Regions from separate parts of the Homo sapiens genome. Here all the other regions are linked to region 1. Evidence: promoter capture Hi-C in 16 types of primary human blood cells and fetal thymus (Javierre and others, 2016). All regions are on one chromosome and are shown on one strand. The core of a region is centred on a gene start or on the middle of the fragment in contact, and the rest is flanking DNA. Distances in the headings are between cores, read along the strand shown.

The links. The method cuts DNA at HindIII sites, captures the fragments that hold promoters and counts their contacts. A CHiCAGO score of 5 or more calls a contact.
Region 2: a fragment that was not itself captured here is called in contact with the fragment with the promoter of LINC01475 in region 1 in 1 of 17 cell types (total B cells); the score reaches 9.6 in total B cells.
Region 3: a contact is called between a fragment that was not itself captured here and the fragment with the promoter of LINC01475 in region 1, in 1 of 17 cell types (total B cells). The highest score is 9.8, in total B cells.
Region 4: a contact is called between a fragment that was not itself captured here and the fragment with the promoter of LINC01475 in region 1, in 1 of 17 cell types (naive B cells). The highest score is 5.2, in naive B cells.
Region 5: a contact is called between a fragment that was not itself captured here and the fragment with the promoter of LINC01475 in region 1, in 4 of 17 cell types (erythroblasts, M1 macrophages, endothelial precursors and 1 more). The highest score is 9.7, in erythroblasts.

Annotation. Positions count from the first base shown.
Region 1 is chr10:99,529,807-99,532,497 of GRCh38, forward strand. LINC01475 (long intergenic non-protein coding RNA 1475) reads right to left here and starts at 1,371. Exons shown (of 5, transcript NR_120618.1): 1 at 1,206-1,371. RefSeq lists an enhancer at 2,466-2,691. The HindIII fragment of the contact is 4,428 bases long and covers 1-2,665 here.
Region 2 is chr10:101,234,965-101,237,655 of GRCh38, forward strand. The region is part of intron 2 of LBX1-AS1 (LBX1 antisense RNA 1); the gene reads left to right. Among named protein-coding and RNA genes, the nearest start is that of LBX1-AS1, 6.7 kb to the left of the region's middle. RefSeq lists an enhancer at 1,074-1,996. The HindIII fragment of the contact is 3,789 bases long and covers 1-2,691 here.
Region 3 is chr10:100,742,683-100,745,373 of GRCh38, forward strand. It overlaps a transcript of PAX2 not described here. Among named protein-coding and RNA genes, the nearest start is that of PAX2, 1.6 kb to the right of the region's middle. RefSeq lists an enhancer at 1,942-1,991. The HindIII fragment of the contact is 334 bases long and covers 1,258-1,591 here.
Region 4 is chr10:100,725,986-100,728,676 of GRCh38, forward strand. No RefSeq gene overlaps it. Among named protein-coding and RNA genes, the nearest start is that of PAX2, 18 kb to the right of the region's middle. The HindIII fragment of the contact is 4,114 bases long and covers 1-2,691 here.
Region 5 is chr10:98,460,524-98,463,214 of GRCh38, forward strand. The region is part of intron 11 of HPSE2 (heparanase 2 (inactive)); the gene reads right to left. Among named protein-coding and RNA genes, the nearest start is that of HPS1, 15 kb to the left of the region's middle. The HindIII fragment of the contact is 1,920 bases long and covers 387-2,306 here.

The DNA.
Region 1 (2,691 bases), core at 121-2,620:
TCTGGAACGAAAACCTATTATTAGTAGAGCACAGCTCGAGGATTTCAAAGATCTACTTTTCAGACAAGAGAATGCAAATGCCCCAGAAGGCGATGGTAACTGGATAGGCGTTGGAACCAGATCCCACTCTGATAAGAGACTCCTGCGGAGCGACTGCTGCTGTACAACTACGGCTCTCGAGTTCTCCTCCTTTCAGGCCCGCGGCCGTCGAGGGTACAGGCTGCGCGCGCGGGAAAAGGAGGCCACCTAGATGAGATTGGCCTGGCGGGGATCCCTGCGGGGAAGCACGCCACTGGGGAACCAGACCAAGGGAGTCTGAACAATACTGAGGGGGTAGCTGGAGACAACCCAAACTCCTGCTCTGGGCATAAAACTCAGATCAACCTTAGGGATGCGGTAGCGGATAGAGGTTTTCCGCAGGCTGGAACAGCACTACACTGGGCTGGGTATGAGGAAAGGAAGCGGCGATAAGGTCTAGGCGCCGCCCGCTAGGCCCCTTCGCCTGGAAGTCCTCACAGGCCCTGGTGGCCTACTGAGGAGCAACCTGCCCAGGGTCCTCAAGAGACAACCGCTTAGGCCTGGCGCAAGGTACCTGGCCCGGGAGCGGCTGGGGCGGCGGAATTTGGGGTAGAGGGGCACCCGTGGGCCGGCTGGTGGGGAGGAGACAGCCCCCTGCATGAGCTCACAGAGGCGCCCTGGTGGGCTCCGGCGGCTGCAGAGCGTCTGTGGGCGTGTATTGGCGATCAGGCGCTGGAGGGGCGCTTTGTCCTGGTCGCAGTTTTAAGACCTGGATTGTTGGGCTAGATTTATGAAAGGCCTAGGAGCGAAGCGAGATGGGAAGCAAGGGAATGTAACAAGGAGAAATGCAGGCTTCGGTTGGAAACTGGGGAGAGAGAGATTGTTTCGATAGCCTTTCTCCTTTTCTTTTTCCAGAATCATGAAATCACCGAGGAGAAGAAAACTGGGGACTAGAAGAGAGCAGAAACATTTCCCCTGAGACAGTTTTGCCCCGGAGGTGGGGTGGGGAAGTGGCGCTGGAGCTCAGCTTCCTGCTTTTATGCTCGGCGGCCACCGTGATGCACACACACTCGAGGTCCGCCACCCCGCAGTGCCGTGCACCCCTCTGCCCCCACCTCGGAATTTTTGTGCCCGAGCGCTCGGGATCCACGGCAAAACCAGGCACATTCCTCCCTCTGCAGACTCACCGCCTGGTTTGTAGACACTGGTCTCCGCCTGGGGCGTCAATAGTTTCAGGATTTAAAGCAGAAAGACACCGGGCGCCCCTGTGGCTGAGGAATGGCGGTTCCAGCACAAGACCCTGCCCACAGAGGGTCTCTCCCTACTGCCTGCGGGCCGCCGCTACCCTAAGTACTCCGGGGCGCACGTGGCCCGCGCGGCATCCCAGCTCCCCGGGCGGACCCAGGGGCTGCCTCTCCACAACAGTTCCGCTCCCTTCTGCAGAGCCCCGCCTCTCCCACCTCCCGACAGGCTGTTCTTTCTCCCTTCAACCTTGGGCACCCACTCCTGTCGCCGTTGCGGGACCCGCGTGGCAGCCCTCCACCCTCGTACCCACTCCCAGCCGGTGTCTTATGCCGCTCGGAGGCAATGTCCACCGTCCCTGCACCTTTCACCTGCCCCTTCCAGGTGAGACGGGTCTCTTTCAGCTCCGCCATCCTGACCGCCAAAAAATGCTTGGATTGGCTGGGGCCGGATGAGGACAGCCACGGTTGAGCTGGAACCGTTCCCTATTTTTTTAAGGCCAGCGCTGCACACGGGTCTTTCTGTGGCCCTCAAAGCAGCGCCCGCTGCTCCTCACTGGGCTAGGCCTGGTAGCGAGCAAATGCCTATTGTGGGAGAAGATGGTCCCAGAGTTTCCAGCTCAGAGTTTCCAGAATCTGTGGGGGACTGTATAGACTCCCCCAGAAAACAACCAGGGCCTCATGAAGGTGCCAGAAGGCGTGTAGGTAGAGAAATTTTAAAAGCCTGTCGGAGAGGCAAGGCCTACATTCAGGCTCCTGATTTCAATAGGTGGAAAAGAAGGCTGCCAAGGCTGGGTCACCTCCCTTGTGAGGACAGATCCTGCTCTCAGTATGTGCCACACTCCAGCCACGCACCACCAATGCAGTCAACAAACACTGCTTGACCTCCCATACAGAAAAGCAGTCGTTGACACGTACTGAGCGCTTAACACGCGTGAGGCCGTGCACTAAGATTCTGGCATGTTTTGCCTCATTCAACCCTAGCAACAACCAAAAAAGGTATTACTGCCTTCGTTTTATAGACGAGAAAACAGACTTAGAAACGCCGAAGATCACACACTGACTAGGCCAAGCAAGAGCTGTCGAATACCAAAGTTTAGTCATAACTCTATCTTCCTTTCACATACTGCTCTGTGCGGCTGCTGCCAGGGATACAAGGGCAAAAGCAACCCCGGGACACTGCCCTCATGGAGCTTACAGTCTAACTGGGGCGACCAGGCAGGCACATACAGCTATAGAATTAAGTGGGAAGTGATAAGTGACATGCATGTCCTTTGCTAACACAAGCTGCAGGTTCAGAGCCTGAAAGAGGGGACTTCCGGCTAGACGATCTAGGAGCTCTTCCTTGGAGAACAGTTTCCACTCGTGGAGGCTAAGTGTCAGAAACATGTTCCAAGTGGAGAGAAAGCTTGAGCAAAGGCAACAAGTTGAA
Region 2 (2,691 bases), core at 99-2,598, 1.7 Mb after region 1:
CTGACTTAGTAATGAACTTCCTTCATTTGCTTTTTTTGTTTGTTTTTGAGATGAGGTCTCACTATGTCACCCAGGATGGAGTGCAGTAGCACAATCTGGGCTCACTGCAGCCTCGACCTGCTAGGCTCAAGTGATCCTCCCACCTCAGCCTCCCAAGTAGCTGGGACCAAAGGAGCATGCCACCAAGCCCAGCTAATTTTTGTATTTTTTGTAGGGATGGAGTTTCATGATGTTGCCCAGGCTGGATTTTTTTTTAAATAGGATTAAGGCCGGGCGCAGTGGCTGGGCCTGTAATCCCAGCACTTTGGGAGGTCGAAGAGGGCAGATCACTTGAGGTCAGCAGTTTGAGACCAGCCTGGTGAACATGGTGAAACCCTGTTTCTACTAAAAATACAAAAATTAGCCGGGTGTTATGGTATGCTCCTGTAGTCCCAGCTTCTCGGAGGTTGAGGCAGGAGAACTGCTTGAACCTGGGAGTTGGAGGTTGCAGTGAGCCGAGATCGCACCACTGCACTTTAGCCTGGGTGACAGAGCAAGACGCTGTCAAAAAAAAAAAAAAAAAAAAAAAAAGAAAGAAAGAAAGAAAAGAAAAGGAAAGGAAAGAAAGAAAATAGGATTGACCCCCCCATCATTCGTTGGGCCCAGAAGCAGAGAGGAAGAATGGACAGAAGATGGGAGGTGATGGGCAGGCAGGAGTGGCAGGAAACAGACACCCACACGCCACTCCAGTAGCCCAGGGGTCTGTGAAGAGGATAAAGGAACCTAAGTGAGCATGTGTGTGTGTGTTGGGGGGGGGGGCGCGGTGTGGGGGGAGAGTCTGGTTCTGTTCCTGATGGAGGTGGCATTTGAGTTGAACTTTGTAAAACCAGGAGCATGTAAATAGGTGCAGGAGCAGGGACCATCCTGGAGGCAAAGGGAACAGCCGAGCACAAGCCCGAAGATGCCACCCTAAGAGAGGTTCCAGAGTTCCCTATAGCTCCTCCCTCTGTTGTCCTGGCGGTGAGCTACTGGGTAAGGGTGAAACCCTTAGTCTCTTGTTTATCGGCAGCAGGTCTGCAGCCTAGAGCCAGGGGCTGCTGGACTCCTGGGATGGCTATTTACTTATTTATGGGGTGGGGTGAGGGGTGGGGATGGGATGAGAGAGGCTGCTTTCCTGGGCCTACAATTGGAGTTCCCTTCTCCTTGCCATCCCCAGAAACTCCAAGAGCTGACCCTCTGTCTTACTAACTCAAACGGCCCAGAAACATCAAAGTCTGACCAAAAACCGTTAATGGTAGTCAGCTCCCTCCCTTTCACAGAGGTCTCACTACTGTCGGGGGGCGCCGGGCGCAGGCCGGGCATGGGGCCTGAGCTTAGGCCAGGTGGAAAGGTGGAAGGACCTAGTGGGGACAGACGAAGAGACCGAGGAGCCGCCCGCCCGGCTAAATGGACACAGGAAAGGCCTGAGTCAGGCTTCTCATAATAAATAAACTGCACGTGAATAATTCAGCAGTCGCGCGGGGGCCGGTTGCATCAGCGCCGCCGCCGCCGCGCGGCGCCCAATTCCCCGCGGAGGGGAGTAGCCAATTAAGGCACTTGAAAAGGGAGTCGGGTGGAAGATCCCCCGCCCACCAGTATCCTGGATTTACCCAGGTCGAGTTCAGAGAGCCTCCCCGGTCCCAACCCCCTCGGGCCCCATGGGTCAGGGGGCCGCCTGCTGGGAAGTGCTACCTCAGCTAAGCCGCTCAGGTGTCCCGAGACTCCGGGCAAGGGAAGACAGGCGGCGAGACGGAGCCAGAATAAGGGATGCGGACGTCTGACCTGTGGAAAACCCAGCATCTGCAGTGCCCAGCCGCACAGGGAACGTGGGCGGCGTGGTTCCAAGCACAGTGAAGACGCCAGGCTCGGATCTGTGCTCAGAGCCGGGATCCCTCCGGGCTGCTTCGTCCTGGCCAGGACTTTCCTTGCCCTGAAGTGAGGCGCCAGGGAAGCTGCAGGGCCCTCCGCCCTCTCTGAACTCCCACGTACTTGGGCCTCTCCCAGCCTTTCTTGGACCTGTGGAAGCAATTCCTGCAGGACCAGACTCCCCTGTCTCCCCGCGGCCCCCTAGGTACACTCCGTAACTTCCGAAACCTTATTTCGTTTGAGCGAAACCCGGCCCCTTTGGCTCTTCCCACTTCCCACAAGTCCCTGGGTTCCCGATCCTGAGGGATTGCATTCATCCCATCTCACACCCACCAACGCTCAATCCCTCCAGTTCCTCCCCAGCCCCTTCACTTCCATTAATTAGGTCGACTCCCTTCCTTCGCCGCTCCCTCCTGTCCCCACTCAGCCTCCCTACACCTATGCGGCGAGCCTCGGGCCAAGACCTCCGCCCTGGCTCCGCCAGTCCTGCGGGGGCCGGCATGCACCAGACCTCAAAAGGGATCTTCACGGGAATTCCGCATAGCCAGATCCCAAGCCTCCAGGGAGGCCACCAGCCCTCCCCCATCTTCTTCTTCCTCCTCCGTCTCCTTTCCTCTTCCCTCCGCCTCTACGTATTTCTTTCTATTCGTTTCTTTTCGTTTGGTGAGGTGCCACCCGCCACAGCCCTGTCCCCTAGGGAGAGGCCTGGACTAACTTTGCCGTCCTCGTGGCCTTAGCCCGGACTGTGAGTCTCGAGCGGCTTCCGAGAGGCAGCTCGGGTGTCTTCGCAGAGACAGATGAGGTGGG
Region 3 (2,691 bases), core at 175-2,674, 1.2 Mb after region 1:
GGGGGGTGGAAGGGCCGCTTTGAAAACACCAGAGAGAAAAGGTTCATTTAGAGGCGGACGGGAAAAGCAACCAACCCTGACAGGTCGGAGCCCGGGTAGTGTTTGGGGTTGGGTTGTTTTCTTTCTTTCTCTTTCTTTTCCCCTTTCCTCTTCTTTCTTCCTTTTTTTTTTTTTTTTTTTTTTTTTTTTTTTTTTTTTTTGCTTTCTTGCTTCCCCCCACCCCTCTACTAGACTGTATAGAAGAAAGAGAACAGAAAAGGGGGAGTCAGAGGAGCGGCCAGTGACTGGATGAAGGCCAGCCCTTCATCCTGGAGCCCCAGGAGAAGGCAGAGCTTTGGAGAAAAGGGGTTCCTAATCTCCAGGGAGCATTACTCTTTGACTCTCTAGACCCAGGAATGGGCTGGAGCTAATGGGGAAGCGGCCAGGAGCCGGCCTGGCGGAAGAGTGAGTGTCCAGCTAGTGCAGTGCTGGGGAGACGATCCCAGGAGCAGGGGGGACTCTCAGGGGCTACCTGGGAATGGGACTATCAGAAGGGTCTTTACTCCTCAGAAGGTGCATGTGAAGGACAGGTGTGTGAGGACAACTTCCAGCACACTTGGCGCATTAAGTCCCCTTCTCTACAAAATGGAAAATCCTTCTCGCCCAACATGTGAAAATGCTTGTTGTGGGCACCCACATTTCATGGTACTTGTAACATAGGGACATGTCTAGCTGGTTCTAGAAAAATCTGTGTCTGTGTGGAAGGGGGGGGGTTTACTCACAGCTTTCTTCCTTCAATAGTTCACACACCCCGAGACAAATTCCTGGATGACCAACTTGGAGAGACCTGGGGCAAAGGTTACTTTAGTTCTGAGCTCCTCTAAATAAGGACCCTTTCTCAACGTTCCTTTCACCCCAGTTCTGGGTTAATTACTTCCCAGAGGGGAAAGCCAAGGCTGTGCTAGCTAATACCACCTGAGATCCCTTGCACTCTGGCCTGGGAGCTGTTACTTTTCGGCTGCCCGAACTGTTTTCCTTCTTCGGTCCCTACACGAAGTTAGTGCGTGTTCGTGGGGTTGTGAGGCCAAAGCAAACCCGGGAGCGCCATCTGCAGGCCTCAAGAGGAAGAGACTGACCTTAGAGGCTAGGCCCTGCGTCTTCAACCTCTAGCCCAAGGGAACCAACCTGCCTAGCCACCCAAGGGAAGTGGGATAGGGGCTGGGAGGGGCAGGCGGTGAGGAGTGTTTTCCTCCCAGACTTTACCCCGCAGGTGGATTAAGCTTATTGGGCTCTGGAGGATACAGGAGGGAGGGCAAATGCCAGGATCCCAGCGGACCCAGGCCCCACAGGAGTGAGAGGCTCAGAACCTCGTCCCGCTGAGCCTGGCCTGAGCTCCTCCTGAGGAATAAGGGCATCCCAAAAACCCGGGTACAAGACGCCCAGTAGTAGTAGTTAGGCTGAGTCAGGCAGGTGCATCTCTCCCCATGGTATCTGCCGCCCAGGCTCCGGCCAGAGGGAGGGGAGCGCGAGTCCGCCGCGCTTCCGCGGGGCGCCCGGAGCTGCAGACGGGGGCTGGAGGAATCTCGGATTCGGGCTGCAAGAGCGCTGCGCAAGCTTCGCCGAGCCGCCCTTTCGCAGACCCAGGGAAGCGGGGGGAGGGAGCGAAGGAGGGAGAGAGAGTTAAAACATCAGCTGAAGTGCCAAGATGATTTATGAGACGAGGGAAAATATTTCATGAAGATCTCCCGGATATTCTGTACTTAACCAGTTAGGAGACAAAGGGCTTCTTCTGCCTGGTGCGTGCGAGCGGACCCCAGCGAGCAAGGGAGCTAGTGCCAGAGAGAGCTGCGGAGGCTCCGGCAGGAGTGGGGACGTCCCCGTGGTTGCGCCTCCTGCGCTCGCCCCGGATCCACCGAGCTAGCAGCGGGCGGCGCTCAGCCGCGTCCGCAGCCTCCTCTTCTCCCCAGCCGGGGAGAGCCAGCCTCGTCTCCCACATCCTCTGCCGCCAGCGACCTGCAGCTCCGCACTGTTTCCCTCCCCTGTACCCCCTTCCCAGTCACCCGAGGGTTCAGAAACCAAGTCCCCCGGCTCTCCCGCCATCCGCTGGGTCCCACCGAGGCAGGTGGGTACTCGCCGGAGGTCTTCAGCTCGATTCTGAACCAAGCGTTCTGGACTGCCCAGACCCGGTGGGCAAGGGGACTGGGGAGGCCCTGCGCACAGTCGCGTGGAACGGGAGGGGACAAGACAAACTGCTGGACACTTTTCCGTGGAATGAGAAGTGGGGGGTGCGTGGGTGGGAAGGTACCTCCGGAGGGAAAGGCCAAAGGGAAGGACCAGAAAGAGAGGAAGGAAGAGCCGGGAAGGAACGGAAGGGAACTCAGAGCCGAGGGTGGTGGGGTTGGGGCTAGGGATGCGCACTGGGCCCGGGGCCGCGCGGCCCAGGCGGGCACTGGCCAGTGGATGGCAGGGCTGGGCGAGTTAGAACTGAGAGCCCGGCTTCACAGCGCAGCGCGCTCCGAGGCCCTCTGTCGTTACCTGAATATTCATTAGACTGACCGCTCTTTATCCTTATCTAGCGTTTATCTTATCGGCGAGTTTCGTTTCTCAGTGTAGTTTTAATCCCGGGCTCCCATTCCCCCTCCCCCGGTCCGCTCCCCTCCCTCCCTCTTCCTTCGCCGGCTGCTCCCTCCCTCCCTCCCTCCCATTTCTCCC
Region 4 (2,691 bases), core at 79-2,578, 1.2 Mb after region 1:
TGAGGTCACTTCTGAGGCTGGCCACAGTGCCTGTTGTGTGGACACAGGAGCTTGTAGACAGGATGGGCTCATGGGCAGGGTCCTCTGTGCTCTGCAGTTCCCAGGGACCTTGGCCAGTCTCATGGAGGATCTGTATGGGACAACCCAGGTCAGGCCTGCATGTGGCCCATCAGGATCTGTCTAGGGAATTCTTGCTGTGGCTGGTGTTGAGGATCAGGGCCCACTTAGGCCTGATCAGAGGCTAAGCCCAGCTGGGACAGGGCATGGAGAGGAGACACCCATAGTGACGCTGCAGGCCTGGAAGCTGGGAGGGCCTGAGGGCATCTTGGAGAGGGGCAAGGCCTGACTGGGAAAAATCAATCTCTCAACACAAAAAACACTTCTTGGGGTGGGGGCCCTAGAGCTTCCTGAAGGGCTGAGTGAGGGCTGGGAGGCCCTGCAGCCTCACAGTCTTGGCTAGTCTGCCTGCAGCAGTCAGATCTGAGTTATCTGATTTAGAGGCCCTGGGCAGAGAAAATAGCAGAGTATGGAGGGAGTGAAAGAGGACTGGCATGAGGATCTGGAAGGCAGGGGGTGGGGGGCTCCTGTGTTTCACCAACTGATGTCCTTAAAGAGTCCTCTCAGCCAGACAAAATGGTTTCTTGCCCTCTGACTTCTCTCTGGGGACTAGGAGTATCTAATATAGCATATGCTTAAAGAGTGTAGGTTAGGGAGGCAGTAGGTGGCAAAGGTAGGATCTGAACCTAACCTTTGCCACCTACTCACTGTGTGATTGTGGGTAAGCTACTGAAGCTCTCTGTGCCTCAGTTTTCCCATCTGTAAAATGGGATTCATGACAGTAGGTGAGAGTTAAAGGAATTACTATATATAAAGTCCTCAGAACAATATCTGACATGCGGTCAGCCCTCAGACATGTTAGTTGTTTTGTTGTTATTATCATTAACCTTGTTCCAGTGGAGTACAAGGCCTTTCCTCTTGTTGACAACTTTTCCAGAGCATCATTACATTACTGCTCTTTGTACCCCTGACACCCTGTACCTGTGCAGGAGACAAAGCTCAATCAATGCATGAAGAAGTCCAAGGCTTGGGTGGGGGTAGGGAATGAAATAACATGATGAAATGTGTTATTTAAATGTGCCAGGAATATAAAAACTTACTTAACCTGACCAACAATTTTTTTTTTTTTTTTTTGGCTGGAGTGCAGTGGCGGGATCTCGGCTCACTGCAAGCTCCGCCTCCCGGGTTCATGCCATTCTCCTGCCTCAGCCTCCCAAGTAGCTGGGACTACAGGCGCCCGCCACTACGCCCGGCTAATTTTTTGTATTTTTAGTAGAGACGGGGTTTCACCGTTTTAGCCGGGATGGTCTCGATCTCCTGACCTCGTGATTCGCCCGCCTCGGCCTCCCAAAGTGCTGGGATTACAGGCGTGAGCCACCACGCCCGGCCAACAATTCTATAAAGCAGAAATTCTTGTCCCCATTTTACAGACGTGAACACTTAGGCAGAGTGAGTTCAAGGGATTTGCCCAAGGTCACATAGCTGGTACATTTCAGATCTGAGAAAGGTGGAGTCCACCTCCAGACTGCTGACTCCATCTTCTACCCTTGGGTGCTGCTTTCTCAGATGTCTTGGGATTAGTGAGAAGTTATCATCTTCTATAGTGTGCATTGTTCTATGAGACTGCCCGGTAAAGGGTGCATGAGGTTGGGAGAAAAACCCATTTGTCAAGTGAGACAGGACATGTGGGTTTCCACTTCACAACCACTACAGGTGAGGATTTGCAAGGGAAGAGAGTTGGAGGGTACAGGGGAGGAATCAGAATTGAGATGAAATTCACCCAGAAACCTAGGTTGACCTTAATTTAGCATCTCACCCTGCAACACACATACACACACACAAAATCTGTGACCATCTTGTTTCTGCCTCTCTCATCTAATGCTTCTGTATCCCTTAGACTTTTTTGAGGCCTCACATCTTCTTTTGCAGACCACTCACTCAGTCTCTGATGCTCTCTCTACCTACAGCTCATTGTCCATAGAGTCCCCTCCAAATCAGATCTTTTCATTCCTCTGTTGAAAAAATCTCCCAGGCAAGGCATAGTGGGTCACTCCTGTAATCTCTGCTTTGGGAGGCCAAGGTGAGAGAATTGCTTGCCTTCAGGAGTTCAAAGCCAGCCTGGGCAACATAGCAAGACCTCATCTCTACAAAACATTAAAAAATTAGCCAGGTGTGGTGGCATGTACCTGTAGTTCTAACTACCCGGGAGGCTGAGGTGGGAGGGTTGCTTGAGCCTGGAAGGTTGGGGATGCGAGGAGCTGTGATAGTGCCACTGCACTTGGCCTGGGTGACAAAGTGAGACCCTGTCTCAAAAACAAAAACAAAACAAAGCAAGCAAACAAACAAAAAATCTCTCAATTGCATCCATGACCTAAAGGAGAAAAGCAAATCCTTAGCAAAAGTTCTCCTTGCTCTAGGCCTTGCCAACCTCCCAGCCTTATTTCCCTTACTTGACCCATATATTGGCTTCACAGAATCCTTTTTGCTTCCCCAGCTAGGTAGGCTGTTGCCCCCTCCCCATGCCTTTATCTTGATGCTCCTTCTGCCTAGGAATATTTCACCTGCTTAGCTCCTGCATTTAGTGGACATCTACTGATCTTGCAAAACCCCATTCCCTTTATGAAGTGTTCCCTG
Region 5 (2,691 bases), core at 97-2,596, 1.1 Mb before region 1:
GATCACTTGAGCCTGGGAGGTTGAGGCTGCAGTGAGCCAAGATTACACCACTATACTCCATCCTGGGTGACAGAGAAACTCTGTCCCTAAAAAAAACAAAAAATGAGTTTTCATATTTAATATTAACAGATGTTTCCATTTAGCAAAACAGCAAAGTAAGTGATAAAGTAGGCATTTGTGATCACAATTCATCTATCTTGCTTTTATCCTTTCTGTATAGCCAGCCACTTTCACCCTGAGAAGGGGGACTACATACATAGCAAACTTAGAAAAGAGAAACAGCTCATCTTATGCTGGATAGAGGGAAATGCCACCTATCCTTGACCTATGGTACCAGAATCCAGATAATGTTCCAGCTGTTCCTGACAGCCATGCACCCAGGTGGAAGCTTAGTTTTATGGGTCAGCAGAAAAGGCCAGAAACAGGCCACCAGCTGGAAATAAGGTTGTGAGTCACCCTCAGAAAATCAACATTGCATAGTGATGACTGTTTCTGGGCCTTGCCCAACCTCCAGTGTGATAACATTGCCGTGACATCATCTGAGCTGTAAAGAGAATAGAATGTTATAAATTGATATAGAGGTCTTTGTTTAGTGTTCCTTCTGTGCTATGAATGATAGACTGCTTTAGAGAGAGATAATCAGACCCATGCCCAATAGAGCAGTGAATTCCCAGAGATAAGTGTGTTGTAAATTGCTCCCAATGGAGAGCTAGGCAGAGAAGAGATCCAGGCCTGGCCCCACATGGGTAAGTTTGGGCTAGGTCCAGATCTGATAGGCCAGAGGGAGCAGGCCCCCTCCCTTTGCTAGAATGACTGAGTGAATAAGTGAGTAGGAGGCTTCTATATGGAGAGCGAGGCCTGCCTCTGGAAGGCATGGGGTGGGAGAATTGAGATCTGAAGGTCAGTGTTGACCGCATCAGATATGCAAGGAGCTTTTGCTTCCAAATATGAGAAGTGACCCTCTGTAGTGAAGACAGCCTACTCATTGGAGTGGAAGGCAGGGTGAGGAGAGTGGTTCAGTTACAAAAGAAGCCCAGATGGGTCTTCACAGTGTATTTTCATTATTTTGTTTCAGGTGCTATGAATATCTATCACCCAGATATAAGCACAGTCAAACACGAGTTCAATAATACCGATTAATCTTTCTAAGGCATACTCAAATTTATATCAGGTCTCTGCTAGAAAACCTTCAATGGTTTCTCCCATATACAGAATTAGGTGCAAACCTTTCTTCTGAAGAATTAGGTAATGCCCTTTTAGATTCAGATGATCCCACAGTATTGACATCTTTGGGTTCTGGGGAGTGCAAAACAACGTGTGATTAGCAAACCTTTAAAAATCTATACTAATAAGGAGTAGTTGTCCTGGAACAGGCCCTATTCTGGTTTCTTTATTGGTTGGTTAAAAAGCTAAGAGTAGAACCAGGAAGCATGGTGAAGATTCTCTACTGAAATCTCGAATTCCAGGAGCCAAGTTGCTAACTAGCTAGATGGCTTTGGCAAATCCCCTAACCTCACTGCCCTGTAGCTTTTGCATCTGTAAGAACGTTATATAGGCACCAAAGAAATGAAATAAGAAATATGAAAGTGCTTTGAAAGCATAATGAACCATATACTTAAGATATGGTGTTTTTGTTGTTGTTGTTCTTTTTATTTTTATTTATTTATTTTTTTGAGATGGAGTCTCGATCTGTTGCCCAGGCTGCAGTGCAGTGGTGCATTCTTGGCTCACTGCAACCTCTGCCTCCTGGGTTCAAATGATTCTCCTGCCTCATCCTCCCGAGTAGCTGGGACTACAGGCATGTGCCACCACACCTGGCTAATTTTCGTATTTTTAGTAGAGACGGGGTTTCACCATGTTGGCCAGGCTGGTCTCGAACTCCTGACCTCAAGCGATCCACCTGCCTTGGCCTCCCAAAATGCTGGGATTACAGGCATGAGCCACCGTGTCTGACCTGTTGTTGCTATTGTTTTTAATGTCACTGTGGACAGATGCACTTGTTGGTCCTTATCATACCTGACTGCTCTGTGGTACTCACATTTTCAGGTCTCCATTCTCAAAACCCTCTCTCCCCTTGGCTCCCATGATATTTCTCTCTGTTTTCCTCCATTTCTGGATGGCGTTTTGTTTTCGTTTTTGTTTTTGTTTTTTTGAGAGGGAGCCATTCCCCTCTGCCTGCTTCTCAGATGCTAGGGTTCCTAGTGTTTTGTCCCTGGACTCTTCTGTCCCCACACTCTGCACTCCTCCCAGGTTGCTGCTGCTCTCACCCTTGACTTCGGTCACTATCCACAAGCTGATGCTCCCTAAGCTTGTATCTCTACCCTACCTACATTCTTTCTATGAACTTCTGTATCTCCACTTGGCTGTCCACAGGAATTTCAAAGTCACTAGGTCCAAATTCAAAATCTTCTCCTCAAACTCTGTCCTTATCTCTGCTTTTTTTTTTTTTTTATCTTTGTGATGGTACCGCCATTTATCCAATTACTGTACCCAGAAAGCTTGGAGTCTTCTGAGACTTCTCCCCCAATTCCCTTGTGTAGGGTAGCCAAGTCAAAATAATTCGACCTTATAGTGTTTTTCAAATCTGCTCCTTTTCCTCCATCCACTGCTATCTTTTTAGTTCAGAACTTGCCTCCTAACCTATCTCTGTGCCACATTGCTGACAGTTATCTGTTGTCACTGCACCGCTTC